Linked DNA regions of Homo sapiens: region 1 is linked to region 2. Evidence: promoter capture Hi-C in human tissues and cell types (Jung and others, 2019). All regions are on one chromosome and are shown on one strand. Each heading gives the region's core, a stretch centred on a gene start or on the middle of the fragment in contact. The rest is flanking DNA. Distances are from core to core; before and after follow the strand shown. Region 1 overlaps IQCE (IQ motif containing E). Region 2 holds the start of NUDT1 (nudix hydrolase 1).

Region 1 (6,959 bases), core at 3,009-5,508, 370 kb before region 2:
ATGTATGTTGTCATGTGTGTGTGCCTGTGTGTACGTGTGTGGGATGCAAATTTGTGTATGTTTCTGCCCTTGCAGGTGTGTTTGCATGCATGTTTGTATGTTTGCATGTGGGTTTGTGTGTATTTGTACGTGTTTGTGTGCACGTCTGTGCGAAGTGTGTGTGTGTCTGAGAGTGCATGCATTGGTGTGTGCATGTTGGTTTTGTGTGTGTTTTCAAGTTTGCATTGTTTCATGTGTGGGCATGTGTTTGCAGGCATATGTCTGCTCATGTGCAGGTGTTTGCATGTATGTTGCATTGTGGTGTTTTGTGTGTGCACGTGTCTTTGTGTGCGTGGACATGCAGCAGTCTGGCATGTTCAGGAGTTCAATTTTGTCTTGGAGCCCGTGGGAACTGTCTGGTGGGGTCACTTGGCCTCACTGCAGATGTGGCAGCAGAGTTGAGGGCTGCTGAGGGGGTAGCCCCTGTGGGGCCTGGTGAGAACGGGCAGGGAGACGGGGATGATCTCTAGGTTTCTGGCAGGGACAACCATGTGGCTTGTGATGTGGTTTACTGAACAGGGAGCAGGTCATGAGGGAAGATAAATTGAAGCCGAGCCAAGCTGAATTGGAGGCATCTGAGACAAGAACGTGCGGACGCCCAGTGGACGATCCAGGCAGGCTGGGGTGTTGGGGACGGAGCCGTGGATACACCCATACTCAACAGGCAGAGGGTAGGACCGGGTGCCAGAGCAGAAGAGAAATCCCGAAAGCAGGGAGGAGTGATGAGGCGGGAAGGGTGCACTCTCGGGCGAGGGTAGCAGGAGCGGTGAGCATAGTGGAGCCAGCAGCCCACAGGGTGCTGGAGGGGGAAGTGGGTGAGAGAAGGGAATGGGGCGGGGCGAGGCTGCAATGAGCGGGAACCAGCTCCCTTTGTATATTTTATGCGAGCTTCGCCCCAGCCCACCCACTCACACCCTTCCCTGCTTTCATTCCTTTGCGAGCCGGGCCTGGGAAGGGAAGGGCTGGTGGGGAGGAAGCCCCCAGACAGGGCTGCCATGAATGGCAGCCGTGGGAGCCCTGGCAGCGCTGGACTCTGTCCTTTGAATCCCAGGCTGCTCTGGGACTTAATTAACGAATAGCTCAGGGGCACCCTCTCCTCTTATTCAGAAAGGGACACAGCACCATGGTAACGTCCCCAGGTTCCTGAGGCAGGCCCCATCTAATGGGGCTGGCCCTCGGGGCTGACACTGGGCCCTGCTCCCGGGATCCAGTGGGGAGGTGCTGGCCAAAGGCCATTAGCTGGCACCCACGCAGAGACACGCCACCCTGTTCTGCAGCCCGTCATTCATATTCCAAGCCCGACAGCAGTGCTGAAAGGAGCGAGGGACTCAGAGGCTTACTTCTTTTTTTTCCTATGTCCCCCAGGGACCTTGGAGGAATCTCATATTTAAAACTGTCTTGGCAAGAGCTTGTGGTGACCCTCACTCGGTCTTTGAGGAGGCCCTCATGCACTCAGCGCACGTCTGGGAGCACCAAAAACCAGAGGGCTGGATGGGGAAGAGGAAGAGGGTTCTCCCCGTGTGCCTGTGCGCGTGCGCATGGATGTCCACGCTCACATACTTCCATGTCTATCCATACCCCGGCCCACGGTGGGTGGAGGCCTGAGGTTGGACCTTCTCTCTCCTCCTCTCGCCAGTTCTAGCTGAGAAGCCCCCACAGGCTGCCTCCTCTCTGCTCCTGGGTCTGAACCCCTAGGGGAGATCACAGCTGGCGACTGCGGGGGCAGCGAGCTTGCAGCGGGCGAGTGCCTGGTGCACCATGCTCTCCAATGCCACAGGCTCCCTCAGGCCCTACCAGCTCGTCTGCAAAGTGCAAGTCTGCAAATGAACCGCTTGCCAGGACAGCACACAGGCCATCGGAGTGTAAAGATGGGCTCGGGGCAGGCCACGGTGGCTCGCACCTGTAATTCCAACACTTTGGGAGGCCAAGGTGGGAGGATCGCTTGAGGCGAGGCATTGGACACCAGCCTGGGCAACATAGCAAGGCCCCATCTCTACCAGAAAAATATATTTTATTTATTTATTTATTTATTTATTGAGATGGAGTTTTGCTCTTCTTGCCCAGGCTGGAGTGCAATGGCTCACTGCAACCTCCACCAAAATAAAATTTTATTTATTTATTTAGACGGAGTTTTGCTCTTCTTGCCCAGGCTGGAGTGCAATGGCTCGCTGCAACCTCCACCTCCCGGGTTCAAGTGATTCTCCTGCCTCAGCCTCCTGAGTAGCTGGGATTACTGGCATGTGCCATCACGCCCGGCTACTTTTTGTATTTTTAGTAGAGACGGGGTTTCACCATGTTGGCCAGGCTGGCCTCGAACTCCTGACCTCAGGTGATTCACTGCCTCAGCCTCCTAAAGTGCTGGGATTACGGGCACGAACCACTGTGCCCCACCCCTCAAATTTTGTATATTAGCCAGGTGCGTACCTGTAGTTTCAGCCACTTGGGAGGCTGAGGTGGGAGGATCACTTGGGCCTAGTAGTTCGACTAGCCTGGGCAACTTAGCAAGTCCTCATCTCTACAGAATTTTTATTTTTATTTTTTTGAGACAGAGTCTCGCTCTGTCGCCCAGGCTGGAGTGTAATGGCGCCATCTCGGCTCACTACAACCTCCACCTCCCAGGTTCAAGCAATTCTGCCTCAGCCTCCCGAGTAGCTGGGACTACAGACGCACGCCACCATGCCCGGCTAATTTTTGTATTTTTAGTAGAGATGGGGTGTCACCATATTGGCCAGGCTGGTCTTGAACTCCTGACCTCGTGATCCGCCTGCCTTGGCCTCCCAAAGTGCTGGGATTACAGGCGTGACAGAAATTTTTTAAAAAGTGGTTGGGCACAGTGGTGCACACCTATAGTCCCAGCTATCTGGGAGGCTGAGGCAAGAGGATTGCTTAAGCCCAAGAGTTTGAGGCTGCAGTGAGCTATGACTGCACCACTGCACTCCGGCCAGGGCAAGACAGCAAGACCCTATCTCAATTTAAAAATATACATATATTTTCACACACACACACACACACACACACACACACATATAAGATCGATAGAGAGAAAATAGGCTTGGGCAAATGCCAGAGCCAACCACAGTAACTGTGGAGGCTTCGGACAAACTCCACTCAGGATTTAGGGCCCCAGGGCAGGCAGCCACAAGCACACAAAGCCACAGATGCTCCTTGTTCTATGCAACAAAATATTGGAAAACAAAACCCAGATATCAGCTCCTTTTGGTCGTTTCCATCTGTGTTTGATTCCTCAGTAAATTATTCTTTCCCTGCTCCTGAAACAAAAATGAAATCAAATATGGAGAAATAACTCCCTCACGCACGCACATTTTTGTGTCCTCATATCTAAGGAATAGATATTCGACGGGGGACCGGGGTGTCAACAGATGTATCCGAGTTCATGCGTGGCAGGGAGCTGGCGGCGGGACCCGTCCCTCCAGCTGGCTCTCCAACCCCAAGCCTGCATTACGACCACGGCAAAATGCCAGAAGCCCAGAGAAGCGGGGTTTCTGAAGCGGATCGTTTGTTCAGCCCGAGTGCGTGGGGCAGGAACACACCTGGAGGTCATTAAAGAGAAGTCTTCACGGGGCACTCAAGGCACACTGCAAAACAACTTTTTATTTAAAAGGCCAATAATGAGAATAATGAGTTGCACAAGAATGAAAACCTTATCCCTTCCAAAAGATCGGCCTATACATTATGTATAAAGTTAGAATAATTCTAAATACAAAATGCCAAAGACCAGCGGGTCCACTCCTTCCTCTCCTAAGCCATCTTGACAGTTTCACATTTCAGCTTCCAGACGTCATTTCTGTTGCTTTTAAGGGTGCTTACCCAGCCGTGGTCTGTACCAGACAGGGTAGTTGGCACAGCGTAGGCACTGCCAGCAGGCCCTTGGGAGCTTGGCGAGGTGGGAGCCTTGAGAAATAGCTGGCTCGGACCCATGGCGGGGTTTGTGTGTCAACTCCCTGGTCCTCAGAGAATCCGAGCCACGGGAGAGCAAACGCTGCTTCCAAAACCAAAGGAGGAATTTTGCAATCGTTTAGACGGGTTATAATAGAATCTCATTCAGATCTTGAAGGTTATCGGTGCTTTCTGCAGGTTTTTATTCCTCAAAAATGCAGCCAAGCTTTGCTGTGCTTATCTTGGTGGATCTGAGCTAGGTTGGGCTATCTTTTCCTAATTCAATTGCCTTTTTTTTGCAAGGAAGGGGGTTTCTGGTCCATCGGAGGGATCAAGGGCATGGTCCTCACGTCTCGTCAGGAGACAAAAATAGACATTCAGCAGACAGACCACAGCCAGCGCATGCGACCAGCGTCGTTTGGCTATTTTAGTCTCTTCTTAATACACAGACAAACGAGCAAAGAAAAAGCTACTTTGTCCAACACCGGGCCCTGGGTTGGAGTTTAGCCCTGCTTGGCTCTGCCCGCTAGTCTCAGTCAGGTCACTCACCCCAGGCCTGCGGGAACGGTGGTCTTGGTGGTCTTCTCTGGCCCTTCCACCTCTTCTGCCTTGTGGGGACCACCCAAGCCCTCTCCCGACTTGCCCAGAGGCTGCACGCCTCTCTGGCATCACAGTCCGCACGGAGCCTGGCTGTAAGGCTCCACTGAAATCCCCCCGGCGCTGGCTTCGTGCCCCAGGCACACCCACCTCACTTCTGCCTCTTTTCTGCTGGTTTCTGGCCTGTTTGGTCCCAGCCCCTCCCTGCACTCTCTCCGCAGCTGTCTGGTGGGTGATGTGAACCAAGGGACACCCAGGGTCATGGCACTGCCTGGATTCAGTTTGGTAATCGTCGGCAGTCTGTCCCTGGCTTCTGAGCCTGGGGCCTCCTCCTCTTTCTCCCCATCCTGGATGAGCAGGACACGCTGGGGAGACAGCGTCCTACAAAGGCCTCCTAAGAGCTGTGCCCTGTGCCAGGAAAGCCTCCTGTATCTCCAAGGATGTCCCTGGAGCCCTCCAGCTGGTGCCTCTGCTGAGGTCTGTGAGCAGCGGGAATAGGCCTCTAGGGGAGGAGTTGGGGACAGGCCTCTAGGGGAGAGCACACCTCCGGGTACTGCACCTGTGGCTCACCAGCCACCTGCACGGGGCCAGCTTCAGCCTCAGCAGTGTCAGCTCAACAGACGTGACTGCTGTCAACACAGTGGGGCCAGGCCCTGGAGACTGACATCTCCTGTGGCTGCTTGTTTAAAGGGCATGGGATAGAGAAAGAGTGTGTTATTTTAAAGCTGGACTACCTAACAGCCTCTGATAGCAGATACAGCTTTGCTGCTGTTCTTGAAGTTCAAGGTGATGTGGAGGTGTTGCAGTGACAATCAGTACACCGTGAACAACACCTGCCACCAACGTCGACCCTGAAGTGGTAGATGGGGCCTGCTTTGGCACTTGACGCTGGGGCAGGAGTCCCTTTCTTGGGGACTCACTCTCTACTTCGTCTCCCCCGGGAGTTGTCTACTTTCCTAGGCCCTGCCAGCAGCCCCCACAGCTCCGCCCAGCCCACTCCACCAGCTTGCTGCTCCCATGGCTCAGCCCCACTCACAGCTCACCCCTCCCATGGCTAGGCCCCATCCACAGCTCACCCCTCCCATGACTAGGCCCCGCCCACAGCTCACCTCTCCCGTGACTAGGCCCCGCCCACAGCTCACCTTTCCCATGGCTAGGCCCTGTCCACAGCTCACCCCACCCATAGCTAGCCCCATTCACAGCTCACCTCTCCCATGGCTAGGCCCCACCCACAGCTCGCCCCGCCCACAGCTCACCCCTCCCATGACTAGGCCCCGCCCACAGCTCACCCCTCCCATGGCTCCATGGGCTTCTCTTCCCCTCCTGCCTAAGTCCCCGCAGGGCCAGAACCCCTGGCCCCCAGGCCCTGGGGCCGTGGGCAAGGAGGCCTCTCCGCTTGGTACTGTCTCCATGGAACAAAACCACACTGCAGCGTTCCAGGACCACAGAACAGCCAGGCAGGCTGTACCCAGCAAAGGGGACTGGTGACCAGCACTGGACACTGGGCATCAGCTGAAGACACTGGCTTGAGAATGCATTGCCATTTACCCAGCGAGCTTCAAGATGGATGCTGGCTTTTAAAAGAGCAGCCCAGCTGCACCAGAGGACATGGCGGTTTATGTATGGAACATTGGCCTCCAAGCCTGAGGCAGGAAAGCCCTCTCCATGCCTGTAACCCAAAGCTCTAGGCCACTGGTTCCCAAGAGTGAGCACGTCCCGCAGAAACAGCTTGGTTTAACAAGTGGGAGCAGCTGCCACAAGAGAACGGAGGGTCTCCCCCAGCGAATGTGCAGGTGTCTCACTTTCTCAGGGCTTTCGAGGTGGACTGGCTCCTAGGACCTGAAGCTTTGAGCTGGCAAGCAGGGATGGCTTGGGACAGCGCCCCAGGGAGTGGACCCGGGCGGGTGGGGTGAAGGCAGGGGTCTAAAGAGGGCCTGTGTCAGTTACACAGTCCATCAAGTTACCAGCCAGTTCAGTGGAAAAAAAAATGGACTTGGCAACCCACAGACCAAATAAGGAAAACACGTACACAAGCCAGGCCCCCCGCTGACTCGCTTCCACCCACTGCAGAAACAGAAGCTAAGTGGAGACAGGGGCCAGGCTTCGAACCGCAGGGTGGGGCGGGTCCTGCACTTTGGGTGGCCCCATCCCTGAGTGACTGGGAGAGAACAGGCTGGGCTGGGGACACCTGTGTCCTCCTCCCATAGAGCAGGTGGACATGCAGAGCCTCCTCTCTCCCTTTCACAAGCCACTGTGTTGGGGCCATCGGCCTTCTGACCGCCACAGAGAATGACCCAGGCTCAGCTTAGGTGACTCAGAAGGCCGCCATGCTGCAGAAAAGGCGCCCAGGGGTTAAGCCTGTCCCCGTGGACGGAAGCCTTGGGAGAAGCTGTCAGCTGTGTAAAAAGGGGCTTTCTAACCATTGG
Region 2 (6,912 bases), core at 2,579-5,078:
CTCACACCCAGTGGTCCTCCTCCCCAGCTGCGGCCCCCAGCACAGAGCCTGTCGCACTGGCACCTGCCACAGTGACTGATCGAACGTGTCCGTGTGGCTGCGGTCTGGGGTCCCAAGCCTTGGAGGGGAAGCACACACAGGGCTCTCCAAACTGAGGGTTGGGACCCATGTACCCCGGGAAATCGGCTTAGTGGATTGCAATTGAAAAAAAAAAAAGGGTCAAGCCAGTGGCCCACACCTGCAATCTCAGCACTCTGGGAGGCCCGGGAGGGAGGATCGCTTGAGCCTGGGAGTTAATGAGACACCATCTCTACAAAGAATTAAAAAACGAACTGAGCGTGGTGGCATGTGCCTGTGGTCCCAGCTGTTCGTGAGGCTGAGGCAGGAGGATCGTTTGAGCCCAAGAGTTTGAGGCTGCAGTGAGCCAAGAGTGTGCCATGGGTGAGATCCCACCTCTGGAGAAAAAAAGAGAAATGAATCGGAAAAGTAGAGCCCCCTTTTATGTAATAAGGGCGGCTACTGCAACTTACTTTAGCTGTACCTGCACACCTGAGTGTGTACACTCTATCAGAGTACAAAACGTATTTCTTACTGCAGGTTGTGATGAAAAAATTGGAAAGCCACTAGGCTGCAGCGTCCTGGCTTTCCTCCGTGCCAGGACCCTCTTTACTCTGTAGTTCTCCTCTCCAGGCAAGCTGGCCTACCTTTCTCAGAACAAAAACACGAACGGGGGCTAACGTCTGTGCAGCGATGTTTACACAGATGATCTCATTTACCCTGTGAGGGTTGAGGGGCGTCTGGAGGACTGTGTGATCTTGGGTAAACGGCTCAACCTCTCTGGGCTTCAGTTCCTTCCTAGGTGAAGCTGGCTGTGTTGAGGATGCAGTGAGGCTTTGTGCACAGCGAGTGTGAGATGAAAGCGATCATCAGCTCCACTGAACAGACAGAGGAACCAAGTGACTGACGAGCCCTTCGGCAACAGTGAGGGTGCTGGGAGGGTTCAATTCAAGCTGCTGCACAGAGGCTTCCAGATACGCCCTGCAGCCCCCAGCACCACCGCACCACAACAGCTAACACGCACTCAGCACGCACCGCACACCGCGCACCGTTCTAAGTCCTTCGAGTTCATTTCCTCATTTTATCTTCACAAGAGTCCGAAGGGCTGCGGACTGTTCTTCATTCTGAGATGAAGACACTGAGGCTCACGCTTAACCCCCTGCTCCAGGTCACTTAGCTCTTAGTGGTGAAACCAAGGGTGTGGCCCTACAGCCCGAATCCCTGTGCCCTGGGAAAGCCGGTTCTATGGCCAGACCTGCCCCATCCTTACCTCCTAGCCCCATCCTCGATGGTCTCTCCTTCTTGCACTTTGCCCCCAAAGCCATTCCACCGGCCGGCCCCGAAGCCTCGCTTTTTCATGCCCAGGAGAACTCGCTGAGGCTGCAGGACCAGCACCAGGGTATAGAGCCTGGAGGCGCCCATGGTCCCTGGGTTCTGAAAGGAAGGTGAGAGGGCAGAGTCAGCCATGACGTGCGTGGAGGAAGCACGTGCCAGGGGCCAGGAGGAAGGGGACGTGCTCTGGGAGGCAGTGGGGGGCGGGGGGGTATGCTGTAACTCCCCAGCCCTGCCACGTGTGGCTTCCCTTGTGGCAGGTGGAAAACTGCCATTGAACCAGTGATTTTCTGGGGTAGAAACAGAACCCAGTGGTCAGCAGGGCTGATCAAGCAGAGCAGAGGCCGGCGCTACCTTCCTTCTCCACAAGTCAGTACTCAGGTGCAGAGGACAACATCACCTTTCCAGAGCGTGCTCTTGCTCCTGCGTCTACCCCCAGGAACCCCCTGCTTATAGGCACACAGTGAGGAACAACAGTCCCCGTGCCTGATTGGCACCAAAATAACCACGCAGTTTATCCTGTGGTCCTCAGGTCAGGCCTTTGGATTAACAGGAACTTCTTTCAGTCTAGTGGGACCTGGCCTCTCTGTAGCAGGCTTCCAGATTCCCAGGAAATGTGTGGCTGTAGACACAGGTCCACCCAGCCAGGCCCGGCTAGTCCTCCCTCCTGTGATAGGAGTTTATACCCCACCCACTCTGCTCCTGCTGTGGCTACTGTGGGACCTGGCACCCAGGGGGGCCACTGGAAGTCACAAGGGTCCTTCCTGCTCCCATAGGTGTGCAGGTCCAGGTCCAGAGGACTCTGAGGGCGATGCCTCCGCCAGGTCCCTGCTGAAAAAAGGACCCTGGAGAAATGCTGGAGGGCCAGGACCAACTTTCCTTTATTTATTTTGAGACAAGATCCTGCTCTGTTGCCCAGGCTGGAGGAGAGTGGCGTGATCGCGGTTCACTGTAACCTCCGCCTCCCTGGCTGAAGCCATCCTCCTGCCTCAGCATCCCACATAGCTGGGACCACAGGCATGAGCCGCCACACCCAGCTAATTTCTGTATTTTTAGTAGAGATGGGGTTTTGTCACGTTGCCCAGGCTGGTCACGAACTCCTGAGCTCAAGCGATCCACCCACCTCAGCCTCCCAAAGTGCTGAGATTACAGGCGTGAGCCACTGCGCCCAGCCAGGACCAACTTTTCTGGGGTCCACACCTGGACAAGACACAGGGTTCAGGACCAGTGATCCTTCTTGGAAGTTGTGGTGTCTGAGAAAAGGGACCAGATGATAAGGAAGGGGGCAGGGAAGTGCTGGGTAGAGGAGGGCGTGGTCTCTGGCCAGGGCTCCACACCCAGGCCTGTGCCCAGGGACCTGGGTGAGGACAGGCATTTCTGTTTTTTTGCCCAAATGTTGCATTTCCCGAGCCCGCCACGTCCCCGTCCTGTGCCTATAAAAAAACCCCAGTGGTTTTTTATAGTGGGCAGAGACACAAGCCGCTGGACGTCAAGAGGACGTGGAAAGCACACCAACAGGCACCAGCAGGCCATCAACTGATGGAACCATGAGTTTGGCAGGGGCGGTCAGAGGAGAGCCCAGGCTGCTCAGCAGCCCGACTCCAGGGGAAAATCACCTTCCCACTCCAACTGCCTTCTGGCTCCCCCATCTGCTGAGGGCTAATTCCACTCATAAAACCTTGCACTCACTCTCCAAGCCGCCGTGTGATCTGATTGCTCCAGTACATCAAGGCAAGAAACCTAGGGATACAGAAAGCCCTCTGTCCTTGCGATAAGGCAGGGAGTCTAACAGCTGACTAACACAAGCCACCTACAAGGCTAAACTGAAAGAGCACCCTCTAACACATGCCTGCTGGGGCTTCAGGAGCTGCAAACATTCACCCCTAGACACTGCCGTGGGGTGGGAGCCCCTCAGCCTGCCTGTCTGTATGTTCCCCTAGAGGCTTGAGAAGCGGGGCACTGAAGAAGTGAGCCACATCCTCATCGCACGCCCTTCGAGGAGGACAAGGGAACCTTTCCCATTTCACTGAGACTGGGTCCTGGTGGCGGAGGCAGGTCAGACAGGGTAAATGGGTTTGTGGCTTAGTTTCACACCAGGCCCGTGTACTTTGTCCCGACACTGATCTGTTTCTGCCAGAAGCCACGGTTTCCAAAGTAAATTTTTGTGATTTACTCCTGGTCTCCCCCAAGCCTCCGCCCCGCTCTCCTTGTCTCTCTCCCAAACCCCCGGCCCCGCTCTCCTCGTCTCCCTCGAGCCCCCGACCCTGCTCTTCTGGTCTCCTTCGAGCTCCCGGCCCCGCTCTCCCCCAAGCCCATGGCTCAGCTCCCCTAGTCTCCTGCCGCCCGCTGGCCCGGCTCCCCTCCCTGGTCACCACGACTCCTGGAATCCCCGCGCGCGCTTTTCGTACCTGCACCGCCGCTTCCGGGGGCGTGGCCTCTGACCGGAAGTGAGGCCAGGCACTTCCGGCGGCGCGCTGCAGGCGCGGGGAACACCAATGGCGGGGTGAGCTGGGCGCTGCTGCTGCGCGTGCAGACAGCGGGAGTGGTTGGGGGTCCGCCCGGTCGCCTTCCTCGGTCCTGGCCTCGGGGCTGGGTGCCGAGCGCTGGGCACCGTCCCCGCACTCAGCGAGCGCGACAGGGGCGAGGCCAGGATTCCGGGTCGCAGTTCCCCGGGAGGAGGGCGCCCTCAGGTCTCCAGGGGCAGGGCCGGCGGGGCCGTGGGGAGGCCGGGGCCGGCGGCGGAGTCCAGGTGGGGGGCGCAGCGCCGGGGCCCAGATCCAAGGCGCCGGGGGCGAGCCCGGGGCGGGATTTCGCTTCTGGGCCGGGTAGCTCCATTGCCCGCGCTTCCTGGGCTGTCGAGTGGGCCCTGGCCCCCGGGACCGGCTTGTGCCATTTTCCCGGGAGACCCCTTAAGCGAGGGGAAGACAGCGACTCACGGTCAGCAGTCAGTGCCTCCTGGCTTGTCAGCACGCTTTGGTGTTGCAGAAGCTAGAAGCTTTGGCCTTGGAGCCATGAGGGTGGTAACTTTTATTTATTTATTTAAATCAGAAAGATGGACATAGAGACCGGGCTTGGTGGCCCACACCTGTCATCCCAGCACTTTGGAAGTCTGAGGCAGGAGGATCGTTTGAGCCTAGGAGTTCGAGACCAGCCTAGGCAATGTAGTGAGATGCCATCTCTAAAAAAGGTTTTTAAGAATTAAAAAAAAAAAAAAAATTAGCCCAGGCATGGTGGTGCACACCTGTAGTCCCAGCTACTCAGGAGGCTGAGGTGGGAGGTTCACTTGAGACCCAGAGGTTATGGCAGCAATCAGCTGTGATTGTGCCACTGCAACTCCAGCCTGGATGATAGCAAAACAAAAATGGCCGGGTGAGGTGGTTCACGCCTGTAATCCCAGCACTTTGGGAGGCCAAGGTGGGCTGATCGCCAGAGGTCAGGAGTTCGAGACCAGCTCGGCCAACATGGTGAAATCCCATCTCTACTGAAAATAGAAAAATTAGCCGGAAGTGGTGGCACACACCTGTAGTCTCAGCTACTCAGGAGGCTGAGGTGGGAGGTTCACTTGAGCCCCAGAGGCTGTGGCTGCAGTCAGCTGTGATCATGCCACTGCACTCCAGCCTGGGTAATAGTAAAACCCTGTCTCTAAAAAAACAAAAAGAAGAAAGAAATGCCTGGGTGCAGTGGCTTACACCTGTAATCCCAGCACTTTGGGAGGCCAAGGCGGGCAGATCAGCGGAGGTCAGGAGTTTGAGACCAGCCTGGCCAACATGGTGGAACCCATCTATACTGAAAATACAAACATTAGCCGGACATGGTAGCAGGTGTGCCTGTAATCCCAGCTACTTGGGAGGCTGGGGCAGGAGAATTGCTTGAACCCGGGAGTCGGAGGCTGCAGTGAGCTGTCACTGCACTCCAGCCTGGGCGCCAGAGTGAGACTCCGTCTTAAAAAAAGAAAAAGAGGACATAGAACTTCCTTGGTGAGGTTGTTGTCAGAGTTAAACAAGGGGAGGTGTGTATAGCTTCCACCTGCTTAGCTATTGTGGGCTGTGAATAAATTGTTACATTTATTGTAACAATTGTCTAGAGAATCTTGGAAATTGTCCTTCAACGATTGACACAGGTTTAGTTCAATTTTATTTAAGACATGTAGGTGAGAGGATTGTTTGAGCCCAGGAGTTCGAATCTGCGTTGAACCGTGACCTCACCACTGCACTCCAGCCTGGGCTATAGAGCGAGACCCTGTCTCGAAAAAAAGAAGAAAAAAAGAAATGTGACAGGCCAGACCCTCTGTACTAGCTGTCAAAGCCCTGGAACTAGGTCACTAAGGCAAGGATCTGTCCTTATGAGGTTTTCTTGCAGCCTGTCAGAGCCCAATGAACATTTTTGCCAGATGAGAAAATAATATTACTTTAATTAATTAATTGATGTATTTAGTTATTGTTTGAGACAGAGTCTCGCTCTGTCGCCCAGGCTGGAGTGCAGTGGCGCAATCTCGGCTCACTGCAACCTCTGCCTCCTGGGTTCAGGCGATTCTCCTGCTTCAGCCTCCCGAGTAGCTGGGTTTATAGGCATCTGCCACCACGCCAGGCTAATTTTTGCATTTTAGTAGAGACGGGGTTTCATCATGTTGGCCACGGTTGGCCAGGCTGGTCTCGAAATCCTGACCTCAGGGGATCCACCTGTCTTGGCCTCCAAAAGTGCTGGAATTACAGGTGTCTCCGAATACCCCCATATTCTGAGGTACCAAGGGTTAGGACATCAACACATTAATTTTGCGGGGACACAGTTTGGCCTGTGATGCCTGCTTTCCATCTGTGTAGCCTTATCAGTTCACCTCCCCTCCTGGGCCTTGGTGCCCCATCTCTAGAAATGAATGAGTTGATCCGAGGGCCCTCCCAGCTCATGACCTGCCGTTCTGTGTGATGCCAACCTGCCTGCTCCTCTTCTCTCCCACCAGGTACTTGAAGCTGGTGTGTGTTTCCTTTCAGCGTCAAGGGTTCCACACTGTTGGGAGTCGCTGCAAGAATCGGACAGGCGCTGAGCACCTGTGGCTGACCCGACATCTCAGGGACCCATTTGTGAAGGCTGCGAAGGTGGAGAGTTACCGGTGTCGAAGCGCCTTCAAGCTCCTGGAGGTGAACGAGAGGCACCAGATTCTGCGGCCCGGCCTTCGGGTGTTAGACTGTGGGGCAGCTCCTGGGGCCTGGAGTCAGGTGGCGGTGCAGAAGGTCAACGCCGCAGGCACAGGTGGGCCTCTGCACTGCTGTTGGCACCTTCTGGCTCCCCTGAGGCTGAGTGGGCATGGGCAAGCTGCCTTTGCCAGTGGATGCGGGATGGTGGAGCCCTTTTTTGAAGGCGTGTGCTTCCGAGTGGGTGGTTTAGCAATGGTGATGATAAAAATAGGATGCTGCCATTTTCAAAATGAAAGACAAGGTAGAAAGGTGCAGTGAACATGGAAATCACCTCGCATGAGACCGCCCGCAGGTACCAGCACCAGCATGGTGGTGTGCATCCTTCCAGGCT

Evidence for each region. The method cuts DNA at HindIII sites, captures the fragments that hold promoters and counts their contacts. A contact is called where the count stands out against the background at its distance.
Region 1: a fragment that was not itself captured here is called in contact with the fragment with the promoter of NUDT1 in region 2 in 1 of the 25 tissues and cell types used here (stomach).

The regions. Positions count from the first base shown.
Region 1 is chr7:2,611,401-2,618,359 of GRCh38, reverse strand. It overlaps IQCE (IQ motif containing E), which reads right to left. Exons shown (of 22, transcript NM_152558.5): 22 at 3,632-6,959. It overlaps LOC107986760 (a long non-coding RNA gene), which reads left to right. Exons shown (of 3, transcript XR_001745069.2): 2 at 559-710; 3 at 3,384-3,777. Among named protein-coding and RNA genes, the nearest start is that of TTYH3, 17 kb to the left of the region's middle. The HindIII fragment of the contact is 7,391 bases long and covers 563-6,959 here.
Region 2 is chr7:2,239,142-2,246,053 of GRCh38, reverse strand. NUDT1 (nudix hydrolase 1) reads right to left here and starts at 3,828. Exons shown (of 4, transcript NM_002452.4): 1 at 3,798-3,828; 2 at 1,328-1,491. The coding sequence starts at 1,479. MRM2 (mitochondrial rRNA methyltransferase 2) reads left to right here and starts at 3,849. Exons shown (of 3, transcript NM_013393.3): 1 at 3,849-3,892; 2 at 6,347-6,636. The coding sequence starts at 3,885. RefSeq lists enhancers at 49-98, 4,465-5,316 and a silencer at 3,923-4,142. The HindIII fragment of the contact is 10,120 bases long and covers 1-6,912 here.